2 separate regions of the Homo sapiens genome follow, and region 1 is linked to region 2. Evidence: promoter capture Hi-C in 16 types of primary human blood cells and fetal thymus (Javierre and others, 2016). All regions are on one chromosome and are shown on one strand. Each heading gives the region's core, a stretch centred on a gene start or on the middle of the fragment in contact. The rest is flanking DNA. Distances are from core to core; before and after follow the strand shown. Region 1 has its middle 15 kb from the start of CGA. Region 2 holds the start of LINC01590 (long intergenic non-protein coding RNA 1590).

What was found. Contacts are between HindIII fragments. The CHiCAGO score rates a contact against its expected background, and 5 or more counts as called.
Region 1: a fragment that was not itself captured here is called in contact with the fragment with the promoter of LINC01590 in region 2 in 1 of 17 cell types (megakaryocytes); the score reaches 5.9 in megakaryocytes.

The regions. Positions count from the first base shown.
Region 1 is chr6:87,076,281-87,083,100 of GRCh38, forward strand. No RefSeq gene overlaps it. Among named protein-coding and RNA genes, the nearest start is that of CGA, 15 kb to the right of the region's middle. The HindIII fragment of the contact is 242 bases long and covers 4,271-4,512 here.
Region 2 is chr6:87,395,750-87,402,588 of GRCh38, forward strand. LINC01590 (long intergenic non-protein coding RNA 1590) reads left to right here and starts at 1,375. Exons shown (of 2, transcript NR_026784.1): 1 at 1,375-2,628; 2 at 3,689-3,992. The HindIII fragment of the contact is 8,043 bases long and covers 1-5,167 here.

The sequences.
Region 1 (6,820 bases), core at 3,142-5,641, 320 kb before region 2:
AAAAAAGAAGAAGCCTGATTATGATTATTGTTTCTGAGTGATGGCATTATGGGTAATTTTTTATACTGAATTTTGTACTTTTCTGTATTACCAGAATTTTTTAATGAGAATGTTTTAATGAAATGAATGGTCATTTTAAAAGAAGCCTTCTCTGTCTTATCCAAAAATGTCTACCCATCCTACCCCATTACTCTCTATTTTTATGTGCTATTGGGTTTTTTATATAGCCCTTGCCACAATTTTTAGTTATATATTTATCTATTCATTTGTTTGCTTGTTTATTTTCTGTCTTTGCCTCTTGACTATATAAACTCATGAAGGGGAGGACTATATTATTTTATTCACCAACGTATATCCAATACCTACCACAGTGCCTGGCACAGAGCAGATACTCCAAAATATTTGTTGCTTAATGAATAGGTGGACAAATTAATATGTGTTATAATAGAAGGAAGTTCAACAAACATTGGGGAAAAAAGGAGAGAGTGAATAATTCTGTTAGAAGAAATCCAAGAAGGCATCACAAAGAAGGAGACACATGAACTGAGTCTTGAACAGTTAATAGATTTCCCCATGCAGTGAAGAGGGAGAGCTTTGTAGGCAATGAGAACATCCAGTCCAGAGGTGCAGGAGATATGAAGGCATACACGTGTTTATGAGACAAAAGTTGGGTGTGGCCAGAAGGTAGACAGAGTGATATGTGTACATGAGGCTGCAGAGATAGGTTGGAGCCAATTGCGTAGAGCCTTGTGATTTGGCAAACAAATGGTTCAGTAATGTTCATAAAAGGACTCAATACAGCAGAGTAAGGAATTCAGAAATCAGATTAAAAGGATTTTTATTACATTTTTATTTTGAAGTAATTTTAGGCTTGCAGAAAAGTAGCAAAAATAGAGAGATCAAATATACGCTTCACTCATTTTCCCTAATGATAATATCTTGCATAACCAAAGTACAATTATCAAAACCAAGAGATATACTGGTACAATACTATTAACTAAAATATAGATTTTAGGCCGGGCACAGTGGCTCACGCCTATAATCCCAGCACTTTGGGAGGCCAAGGCGAGCAGATCACTTGAGGTCAGGAGTTTGAGACGAGCCTGGCCCACATGGTGAAATATGGTCTGTACTAAAAATACAAAAAATTAGCTGGGCTTGGTGGCATGCACCTGTAATTCCACCTGCTTGGGAGGCTGAGGTGGGAGCACCGCTTGAACCCGGGAGGTGGAGGTTGCAGTGAGCCGAGATCAGGTCACCGCACTGTAGCCTGGGTGACAGAATGAGACCCTGTCTTGAAAAATAAGTAAACAAAAATAAATAAATAATACAGATTTTATGGAAATTTCGTCAGTTTGCCACTAACATTCTTTTTCTGTCCTGGGATCCAATCCAAGAATTTCACTTTGCATTACTTGTCATGTCTCCTTAGTCCCCTCTCATCTGTGATAGCAACTGATCTTACCCTGTCTTTAATGAAACTTGACATTTTTTAAGAGTACCGGCCAGTTATTTTGTAGATTTTTCCTCAAATCGTTTGTCTGATGCTTTTCCATAATTAGATTGAGTGCATGCATTTTCAGCCCTTCTCAGAGCATGATTCCGGGGGGGGGTCTTATGATGTTGGTATCCAACATTATTGCTGGTGAAGTTAACCTTAGTCGCTGTGTTAGCCAGCTTTCTCCACTGTAACGTTGTAATTTTTCTCTTTGTAATGAATATTTATCTTAGAGTAGATGCTTTTGTTTTTTGAGACAGGGTCTCACTTTGTCACCCAGGCTGGAGTGCAGTGGCACAATCTCAGCTCACTGCAGCCTCAACCTCTGGGGGGTCAAGCAATCCTCCTGCCTTAGTCCCCACAAGTAGCTGGACTACAGGGGCCTGCCACCACGCCCAGCTAATGTTTTTGTACTTTTTAAAGAGACAGGGTTTTGCCGTGTTGCCCAGGCTGATCTCAAACTCCTGAGCTCAAGTGATCTGCCCACCTCAGCCTTTCAAAGTGCTATGATTACAGGCGTGAGCCAGTGCACCCAGCCTTAAAAATAAATGTGATTATATATACTTAAGGCATACAACATAATGTTATGGGATACATATAGATAGTAAAATGGTTACTATGTAAGCGCATATAAATATTTTTATGTTCACTAATGTGAAACAATAAAGACAGCAAGCCAAATGAAGATAATGTTAATGGCATTTCACACATCTTAAATTAGTAATAACAGGTTACTATATAATTAATTCCATTTCCATCCTTTGCTTGCTAAACGTTTTTCAGGATCTCCCTTTCCTGAATATTCATTAGATGCTTTACTGTGTGCCTTGCTTTATTGCAGATGGCAACCAAACACAAAGAAGTTTTCTGAGTTTTTTTATTTTTGTTTTGCTGGAGTTTTTTTGTATATCTATATCTAGTCCCCTAGCCAACTGTTTTTAAACCTTTTATGTCCTAGCACAGAGAAAAAAGTAGGATGAACTAGAAGGTGTTTGTGGATGTCCATATGGGGCTTGGTTAAAAAAAATACAGTTGTGAGAAAAATACAGGGTATCAAATTTGAATGAAACCCAGATACAATATTTTCAGATATTTCAATTTGAAATTTGAGCTTACATATTTAACCTAAATGTTTTTCCTTTCCTTGCATTGACAAATGTATTATTGAAATTCTTATAATAATCTGAAGGAATTTTGGAATTTAGGTTTAGCTTATCAAATATTTCTTGCCAAGTGCACAAGTATTACAGCTGCCACCCCACAGGTAGTTGGATGTCACTAAAAGGGCACATCAGGAGCAAATGAACAGAAAGATCCCATAAGCATGAAGACAAATGTGCCCAGTCAGCTGGACCCATTCGGCCTAGCATCGCTCCCAGCCTCACCCACTGACTCTTCCAGAAGCTCCATGGACCACTTGTCCACAAGGGGCAGCAGTGAGTTCTGCAGCGGACTGAAGAAATCCATAGCTGGCAGTGAGGGAGGGCTTCTCTTTGGCCACGCTCAGTTTCACACGCTGTGGCCAGCACTTGTGTCTTCAGCTTCAGGAATAACAGAGCCTACCCCAGAGCTCTCAGAGCCCACCCTGCCCATGTAAACAGCGAATGCATCTCTGATGTTATCACTGTCTTCCATATCAGAGTGTGTCGCACAGAAACATAGTCACTAGAATAACTGTGGTGGTAACCATAATTTAATTTAGATGGTAAATTATCTCCCTAAAACCCAAGGTTAAGACTTTAGTTCCTCCAACCATAATTTCAACCCAAGCGCCTGCCAGCAACCCTTTATACACACAGCCTGTCCCACTTCTCCATCTTCACAAAGATGTGGTACATTTCTAGGTTACGCCCGGGTTTTCTTTCTTCCTCTTCCTTTATCCCTCTGAAGCCATCTTGGGCAAACCATTACTTCTGCCCCGGAGTTCATCTCCATTTCCTAGGCCTAGTCCTAATGCTGGCCTTGTCCAGTTATCCTCAACATGAGTTGCAACTGGGAAAAAGGTATACAGAAGTAAATTTGCACGTACTGAAATTCTACTTGCTGTCAACTTAACTAAGAATCAATTACTGTTCACAGACAATTTACAGCAAAATAAGTGACTATAATTCAAACACACTTTCTGATCAATAGCATTTGGAGAAAACTGATACAGTTTTAGTGCTTTTACTTTACTATTCTACTTTCTGCTAACATCCCATTAACGGAAATGGTTTTTAAACAATAGAATGTCTTTGTTGAACACTCTCTTACAAATTTTCGATAATGTGCCCAGCTTCTGGCTGCTTCTTCAGAGACTCCTCTCCTGACCCTCCTTCCCTCCTTTTTCCCAAAGCCTCAGCTTTCAAGTCCTAGAGATGAGTGAGCCCTGGGAGTCACATTCAATAGAAAAGTATATACTTTTCAGAGCATATGCTTTTCTGGAGTTCGGAAGGGAAATTCATTTTTAAAATCCAATAGTTATTTTCTTTTTCTGTCTCTCATTTTGAAGTTTGATGCAATAATTAACTTCTGTCTTTGTTCTGAGGGAACTCAGATCCAGCTTCAGTTCCTTGTGAAAACAGCGTTTAAAATTTGCAATTCCTCATGCTACCCAGTTTTGAATAGAAGAATATGGATATCCTAGTCGTCTTCCACAACACAGAAATCTCTTCATGTTTCTCCTCCTGAGGGATAGGATAGCTTTGAGATATGAATTAAGTTTCGAAAGAAAATAACTGAAGAAGTCGTTGAGTAAAGGAAGAAGAGCTATAAGGGTGAAGCTGAAGCCCAAGCTTCCAGACAAAGCATTAGTAGACAATTCACAGACCAAATATCAGATCTTTTAATAGAATGGGTTTTCAACCTGGGCAAATCTCAAGGAGAGTTTTCTGTTAGTGTCCATGGGGAAATAGTTCTTTGTAGATAAAGTGAAAACGTCATAGATTTGGAAGGAAGTTGGAATTAGAAAGAAGCAGCTCAGAAATGGAGATGCTCACTTTTCCTATACACATTCTTTGTTCCTATACAACCAAAGCTTTGTACTTCTGTTTATCCAATTGTCAAATGAAGATGGTGCCACATGTTCCAACTCTCAGTCTGGAAGGGGCTAAGTGAAAAACATGGATGCATTAGACATGGGAAGTTCTAAGAAAGTAGAAGAGCTGTATTAATGTCAGGCAGTTTGATGTTGTTTAACTTTTTGTCAAGTAAGTCAACCTCTCTGGTCTTATTGACGTTTGTGGTCCTAGCCAATTTCCTCATGTCAGCTTCATGGTCATTTGCATGTGTATTTTTTGGTTTTACCTTCCTGTCCTTTGCCAGATTCTGGATGTCCCTTCTACTTTTTCCATGCATAATAAAACCAAACAAAACTGTATTTGGACCAATATTTTATCCAGGATCCCCCACCCCAAGCAGTATTAGGGTAAAAATACATCAACATTTGGAATCTTAGATGTCAAGATTCTCACCAATTTAGGCCATTATTTTTCAAAATGCAACAATGGTCATATTACTATGATGAGATTATAGATAGAGCTGCCATGTAAGATTGCACAGTTTGTGTACTGCACAAAGGTGCCCATCCAGGAAGTGAGGGCTAACAACTATCCAGACCCCACTCCACCTCTGCCTGAGGGAAAAGATGTTTTTCTGCACCTTATGATTGTGAAGCCATTTACTCAAGGTGCTGTGCCTGCCCAGAGAAAGCATCCTTTTCCAATTTGTACAATAGTTGCATACAGCCTAGAGATCTTGATTATTTAGATTTTGACAGAGGGGAAGAGGGGTGGGCATGAGTGGGTGGACATGAGTAGAGTAATGGTCTATTCTTTCTGCTTGACTCCAGCTCTGCCACCTCTGAGGCTACTGACTCTCCAGCAGCCTTTCCGGCTTCTCTCTCTTCCCATCACACATTTTTCCTCTCCACACTTTTTATGCAGCTTCATTCTTCTTTCTCCTCCCTTCCTAGTATCTTTCTTTCCCTCTCATCATTTCCTGCCCTTTCCTCTCACTCCCAGGAGATGGGCCGATGGCCAAGTGCCATCACTGTTATATTGACCTCCTTCTTGAGTCCTAGTCACCAATAATATCACTATAATCACTTTGGAGTTTCTTCTCATCATCAAATCTTGACACAATTACAAAGTAGTAGAAGTCTTGCATCTTTGCTTTATCCTTTTCAATACTCTGCCAGACACCCCCCTTTCCCAGCCAACAAGGGTCCAGAACTCCCAGTGTGGACAGAACTGATAGTCTGTTAAACTTGTGTAATAGTTCATTAAACTGTTTATGGCCAACCACATTGCATCTCCTGGGAGTGTTGTCATTTAAAAAGCAGGTGCTTGGGATACCATGTTTTAGCCATAAGGAAGGAATCTCACAGGGGAGAATTCAGAGCAGCTTTCTAGCTGAGGTGAATGATGGACAATTTTTTTGATAGAAGCACCCCCTCAAACCTGTGCTTACTCTGCCTTAGGATTTCTTTCAGGTATTTTCACAGATGATCTTGAGACAAAATTGCCAGCCTCCACACCTGCATCTCTTCCTCCTTGCTGCTTATATAGCTGAGCTTATAATCTCTTCTCTAGAGAGCTCATATCAGAGCTTTCAAATTGACTGTCCCGAAAGTCATGACAACTATTTTCTCAGCCAGACTCATCCAGAAGCTTGGAAGTCCAGCAACTACCCTTCCTTTAATGTTAGCAGAACTCCTCAAACTCCTCTATTTAAGTACTCCTAATGCAAGAGTGAAACTGGAGGTTTGGGAGGGCTCAGAAGAGCAGGATCCGAAAGGCCCCACCCTCAGCATGAAGTTTCTTTTTAAGTCACTGTTTTTCTTCCTATTTTTGTCAATTTTGCATTCTATTCTATAATACATCCATTTTTGTTTTGAAGTAAAAATTACATTTCCCCAAGTCTTCAAGCAAAATTGATCCTGCAGAAAGGTGCTTGTTTATTCTGCAGCTTCTGGAACCCTCAGGCCCTCCAGCTTGAGAAACTAGAAGCCTAGTTAAAATCCATATTTCTTTGCATGTTATACAAGGACCTTCTTGACAGGTGCATATTTATCTCTACAGTTCCAGTCCTCCAACCAGCTTCCTGCAGTCCAAGCACACTGAACTCCTTGAAATTCTGTGACCATCTTAGTGTTTCTTATTTCAGAAAAATTGCTTATGCTGTTTCCTCAAACTAGAATGTACTGTCCCCCATCTCTCTGCCTATCTTCTAGACCCATCTGAAGGATCATATTGCCCTGTGAAGCTCTCTATGACAAGCCCCAACAGGCTGAATAAGCTATCCCTCCCTTTATGCCACCAAAGTTCGCTCTTCTCCCATAGT
Region 2 (6,839 bases), core at 125-2,624:
ACAGTAAAACTATTCTGTATGATACTGTAATGGTGGATACCTGTCCTTATACATTTGTCCCAACCCATAGATTCCACGGCACCAAGAGTGAATCCTAAACTATGGACTTCAGGTGATAATGATGGGTTCATCAATTATAACATGTGCCACCGTGGTGCAGGATGTCAGTAGCCAGGGAGGTTAGGTGTGTGGGGATAGGGATAGACGGGAACTTTGTACTTTCTACTCAATACTGCTGTGAACCTAAAATTGCTCTAAAAAATAAAATTTATTAATTTTTTTAAAAGTGGGGACAAAGTCTTCCCTGGAACCTGTCACAAGACATGCCTATGACATGCTTTTGGTGTCTACATATCAAGCCAGCTTTTTTCCACTTAATTAACATCTCATATTCATTAAACAATTATTAATAAAATACCTACCATGGGATAGGCATTGTTCTAGGTACTAGGAATAAAGTAGCAAATGAAGCAGATATTTAAAAACTCAGATATTTCACATCTGGGAATCTGAATAAATTACATGCGATACAAAAAATTCTTATACTCAAATAACTCCACTGTTATTTATAATGGTGAAAACTTGAAAATATACTACATAATAGTGGGAATACTTCAGTAAATTATGACACATCCACTCAATTGCATATTATACAGCTATTAAAAATACAGCCCATAATAAGATATAAAAATGTCTGTGTTGTAATGTTGACTGTAAAGGAGTAACATAAGATATGGTAAGAATGTAGATAAGGTGAGTCATTACATGAACATGTTAACAACATTAATCCTTTGTTAATGAATCTATGGGTGGCAGATTTGTACTCCCAAATTTTCATAAAGAGCATGTCTTATTTTTATAATGGAAAATGTCCCAATAAAATATTTTTAAGCCTAGACACTTAATATTTGAATTGACTAGCCAAATCTTCATGCTTTTAATGTCGTAGGTGTGTATCTAATAATTGCTGAAGCTGGAATTTCCTTCGTGTGCAGTCAGCCACACCTCGCTATACCTGTCAAACCATCTCAATTATCCACTCCAATTGTCATGCCTCTCGTGGGTTAGTTGTAAATGGAACACAACTCTAGCATGACATTGCGACTTAAAAGAGCATATCCAGTATTTCGATGATCATTCTGGAAATATATTTCCTCTTCAAAGTTTTTACCTGTCAGTGAGGCATTTAAATTGGGGCATTCTCTTGTTTCTGAAGTCTGATAAAATCTTGACCTTAGAATATTTATTGGTAATATTTATTCATTCACAAAATTAGTTCTTAGCATATCCTATATGTCAGGCATTAGTCTAGAGCTGGGGCTAGAAAAATGAATAAGATTGGGTTCCTGACCCCAGCCCAGGCTCACACTGTAGTAAAGGGAAACAGACATGAACACTAGGTGACATGGAGTGTTAGGGGCGCTATGGTAGAAGTCTGCAGAGAGTGCAATGGGCGTCCAAATGAGGAAGTGATCACTTGCACAAGAGTGGGAGGCTTGGCTGGAAAGGCTTCTCTGAATAGGATGACATTTGATCTGTGTTTTGAAGGGCATCGTTGGCAAGGTAAGTAATCCAATTAAAGGAGGTTGCCTCAGCTAAAGCACAGTATGCTCAAAGGTGCGGATCATTTGAAAATTTGAGTTCAGGTGCAGTAGGGGTAAGGTAAGTATCCAACAGAATTTTCTACAATGATGGAAATGTTCTATATTGTCACTGTCCAATACGGTAGCCTCTAGCCACATTTGGCCAGTACAACTGAAGAATTGAATATTAACTTTCATTTAATTCTAGCTAATTTAAATTTAAATAGTTTCATCAGTTAGTGGCTACCATATTGAACAGTGCAGGTTTAGAGATAAACAGAGGCCAGTTGCAGGAGGGTCTTGCATCCCATTGAGGAGGACTGAATTTTCTTCTGCAGGGCCTTCTGTGGTCTGCAGAAAGGGCAGTACACAGGCAGTAATATTATCAGCTTTGCCTGTGGGAGTGCCCCAGCCTGGAAGCAGATAATACAGTTAGGAGATTCCCATAACCTGCCTGAGTGAGAGCATTAGTAATTAGGGAAGGAAATGGATGTGAGACTTGCTGAGAAGGGCTGGACAGGCTTAGTGACAGGTCTGAGTGTGAGGGGAGAGGGAGTGGGGGAAGTGGGATCAGGTTTGAGCCAGCTATTAAATCAATGCCAATTCATCCCATAAAGAATGCAGAGAGTGGGACAGGTTTGGAGAGTGTAAGGAACATGGCTGTGCTGTAGCCAAGCAGGCATAGGGTAGCAGGAATAGGCCGAGGTAAACAGCCTAGACATCTCAGCGGGATTGGGGTGCAAGTGCACAGTCCTGTGTCTTATATAGTCACAGCCATGTAGGCATAACATAGAGCAGCTCCCCACCTGGCTCTCAGCCACTAGTGTTTGTGTAGTGTATAAATGTAACACTGACCCTGTGAAGGGGCTGCTGAATAAAGCCATGTCTCATTTACCTGCTGTCTCTCCAGTGTTCTTCCAGCTCCCTGCCCCACATCCACCCACTGTCCTCAGACCTCAGCTGGGGCTGCACCCCAACCCTGAGTGTGACAGAGAGAAGATGAGTGTTAGAGATCATGATCCTGAAGTGCTGACGAGAAATTCAGGTGAGTTATTACTATCTTTCTTTCTTTTTCTTTTCTTTTCTTTTTTTGAGATGGAGTCTTGCACTCTGTCTCCCAGGCTGGAGTGCAATGGCGTGATCTTGGCTCACCCCAACCTCCGCTTCCCAGGTTCAAGTGATTCTCCTGCCTCAGCCTCCTGAATAGCTGGGATTACAGGCAAGTGCCACCATGCCTGGCTAATTTTTGTATTTTTAGTAGAGATGGGGTTTCTGTACGTTGGCCGGGTTGGTCTCGAACTCCTGACCTCACGTGATCCACCCACCTAGGCCTCCCAAAGTGCTGGGATTACAGGCATGAGCCACTGCTCCCAGCCACTTATTACTATCTTTCTACTTGCATTGTGCCAAGAGGAAACTGACAGTTCAGCCCTCGTCAACTGAGAGACAGTTGAATTAAAGTAATCTGATGGCATCTCTGGCATTTATTCAGCCATAAGAAAACAGCTGCTAAAAGTGGAATGCAGCTTTTTTAGAATTTCAGCAAAGGTGGAAGGAGATCCAAAAAATTCCTTCTTAGCTGTGCATGGTGGCTCATGCCTATAATCTCAGCACTTTGGGAGGGCGAGGTGGGGGATCACTTGAGGCCAGGAGTTTGAGACCAGCCTGGGCAATATGGTGAAACCCTGTCTCTACTGAAAATACAACAATTAGCCGGGCATGGTGGCATGTGCCTGTAATCCCAGCTACTTGGGAGGCTGAGACACAAGAATCACTGTAACCTGGGAGGTGGAGGTTGCAGTGAGATTGTACCACTCCACTCCAGCCTGGGCAACAGAGTGAGACTCTGTTTCAAAAAAAAAAAAAAAAAAAATTCCTCCTCACAAAATTGAGGACTTATGGACTACAGAGAAAGGCAGTTTTCTTGATGATTGAGAAAATAGTATGACTTTAATAAGGGTTTAGACTGTCCCAAATTAAACTTCGTCGTTGGGATTCATGCCGTAATGCTTCCCATAGTGGGAGGGAATCATAAAGATGAAATTCAAACTGGAGCCCAGTCACCATCCCCCATACCCACCTCCACTACCTGCTCTCCTAGGAAGCCTGCAAGCCTAGAGGTCAGCTCAGTGGCCACCTTCTGAAGCCCAGGGCACCATTGGAAGCTGCCTAGTTTGAGGCACGGATGGAAGAGGAAAACACTGAGAACAACATCCCTCTTCCTGAGGAATGCATACAAGGGTGCTTGGGGGTGGGTTGGGGATCCCAAGGCAGGAGAGCCAAAGCTGGAGTCAGAGGAAGCTCTTCTTCTGAAACCTGTAATTTCAATGTCTTTTCCTTTCCCTTCAAAATTGTAATTTCCTTCTGAAATCATTCTAACCCTTTAGTAAAGACATTAATTTAAAGATGTTTAAAAATCTCCCCCCACCCTCTTTTTTAACCTACTCACTTCTATACTCACCTCTTTAACCCAGATGGTCAACTGTGACTATTACATCCCAGGCTCTCTTCTTAGGTGTGGGGAACTCAACAAGGTATGCTCCCTGTCTTCAAAGAGCTATGGTCTAGTGGGAGAGACAGACAGGAAAATAGACTTCCATAGAGTATTGAGAGCTTTGTCAGGTGTAAGCAGTGGGGGAATGGAGAAATGGGGAGTTACTGCTTGATAAGTATGAAGTTTCTTTTTGCAGTGGTGGAAATGTTTTGGAACTAGTTAGAGGTGAAGGTTTAGGACCCTAAACCCAGTATCGCCGGTCAGAGAAAGTTTCATAGGAGAGATGGCTTCTGAAGACATGGAGGAATTAATCAGATGAAGAGGAAAGGGGACATTCAGAGATAGAGGGAGTAACCTCTAGGCAAAGGTCTGGAGCCCAGAAAAAAATGGAAGTTAATGCAACATGGCCAGAGAATGGCAACAGTGCAGTCTGTCAGGAGAGGAGAGGCAGTTGTGAAAGCTGAGGTTGACATTAACGGCTTCGTATACCATGCCAAGGAGTCTGGAGTTACCCAAAGACCATTGAGAAACCTTTACAAGGTGTTGAGCAGGGAATGACATGATCAGATTTCTATTTTTGAAAGATAAGTTTAGGCAAATAATTGGGGGAGTACAAAACTGGAGAGGCAGGGAGCTCAATTAGTTCTTCATTGCAGTCATCTAAGCAAGCAAAGACAGTTGCTTTAATGAACGTGGGAGAAGTGGGAATGGAGAAAGCAAGTTGGTTCAAGAGAAGTTAATAAAGACTTGGTCATTAGTTAAGGATTGGGTAGATGGGTGCGAGGGTGGGTGAGCAAAAGACAGGGAGATATTCACCTTTAAGAAAAGCTACACAGCGACATTTTCCACATATACAAAATAGATCAGTAGCACATATCAGAGTTGCTCATGGTGGGCTGCCAATGCATGGCTGATATGCTGTCCTTCACTCTCTAGAGTTGAGAATCATTGCCACACATGCTACAGTAGCAAAGATTTTGATGCTTTGAATCCTGTTTTCCTAATTAAGACCATGTGGTATGTGTATGAAGTTGCACCTGGTTTATAATTCTAAGAAAGAAGAACCACTATTGCCCCCACTTTTTATAGAAGCTTGATGATTATAACAGAATTCACTGATTCTTTTTTTTTCATTTTTGTGCTCTTATAATTTTGACTTCTTTTGTAATATATAAAAAAGCCCTATGCTTGTTTATCTTCCTTAAATGCCTCAATTACCCTCCCTGATTTAAGTGGTGAAAATCTGATGCTAAGGTCCCTTATTTCTCCACTGACTGATTCATGCGATGGAGAAAGAGATGGAAAATGAAGAATTAAGGCTTTCTTTCGTCATTCATCTTACCTTTAAAGATTCTTGGCCAGGTGCTGTGGCTCATGCCTATAATCCCCAGCACTTTGAGAGGTCAAGGTGGGAGGATCATTTGAGCCGAGGAGTTGGAGATCGGCCTGAGCAATGTAGCAAGACTTTGTCTCTACAAAAAAATTTAAAAATTCACCAGGTGTGGTGGTGCATACATGTAGTCCCAGCTACTCAGGAGGCTGAGGCAGGGGGATCCCTTGAGCCCAGGAGTTCAAGGCTGCAGTGAGCTATGATCACACCACTGCACTCCAGCCTGGGCAACAGAGAAAGAATCTGTCTCTTAAAAAAGAGAAGAAAAAAAGAAAAGGATTCTTTTTTTGTTTTTTTTTTTGAGACAGAGTCTGGCTCTTTCGCCCAGGCTGGACTGCAGTGGCGCGATCTCGGCTCACTGCAAGCTCCGCCTCCCGGGTTCACGCCGTTCTCCTGCCTCAGCCTCCCGAGTAGCTGGGACTACAGGTGCCTGCCACCACGCCCAGCTAATTTTTTGTATTTTTAGTAGAGACGGGGTTTCACCATGTTAGCCAGGATGGTCTCGATCTCCTGACCTCGTGATCCACCCGCCTCAGCCTCCCGAAGTGCTGGGATTACAGGCGTGAGCCACAGCTCCCGGCCAAAATATTCTTGATAATTACAAAGAAAAGTAGATTTTTAAGGGTTAGACAGGACCCTTGAACTCAAGAAGCTATGCTATGTTTGTATCAGGAAACGAAACTATCTGCTTTTTTTTCTGCCTTTTTGTATCTGTGCCCATGTAAATAACATTTGAAAAAGAATCTCCATGAAGAAGATGGTTAAGGAATAATCTTGTGATCCTCCTGACTAAAAGGATATGGGAAAGTACAAGAAAATAGCTCATGCTTATCCTAAGAGAAACGGAAATAAGGGTGACTTGCATTGTCTTACTTGTTCCATAATTTCTTTCTCATTATTGACCTGAAATCTCAACTTCCCTCTCCGTTATCAAGCCTTTTTGTGGAGAAGGAAAGATAAACTGGAAAAGGAGATTGTCAGCTAATTCCAGGACTCTGACTTTCACAGTTTCAAAATCGATGCCCTACATGTAATATACAGGTTGTGTTTTTTTTAAAAAAGGAGAGCTGTTGTGAAGCACATGGATAATAATGGAGAAAGACAATGAAAACAAAGTGAATAACACAATATATATTTTTTTAACTTTTGAGGATTTTTTAGGAATACAGCTCTGTTTTAATGCTTAACATCCACAAAGCACAACTAAAAGTAGAGAAGTTCTATATTATTGAGCCTTTATTTTTTATTATAAAACATATACAGAAAAGTCAGTGTAACATATATATTTATATATACATATATACATATGTGTATAAATACATATGTATATATACGTATGTGTATATGTGTATATATGTACATATACATACGT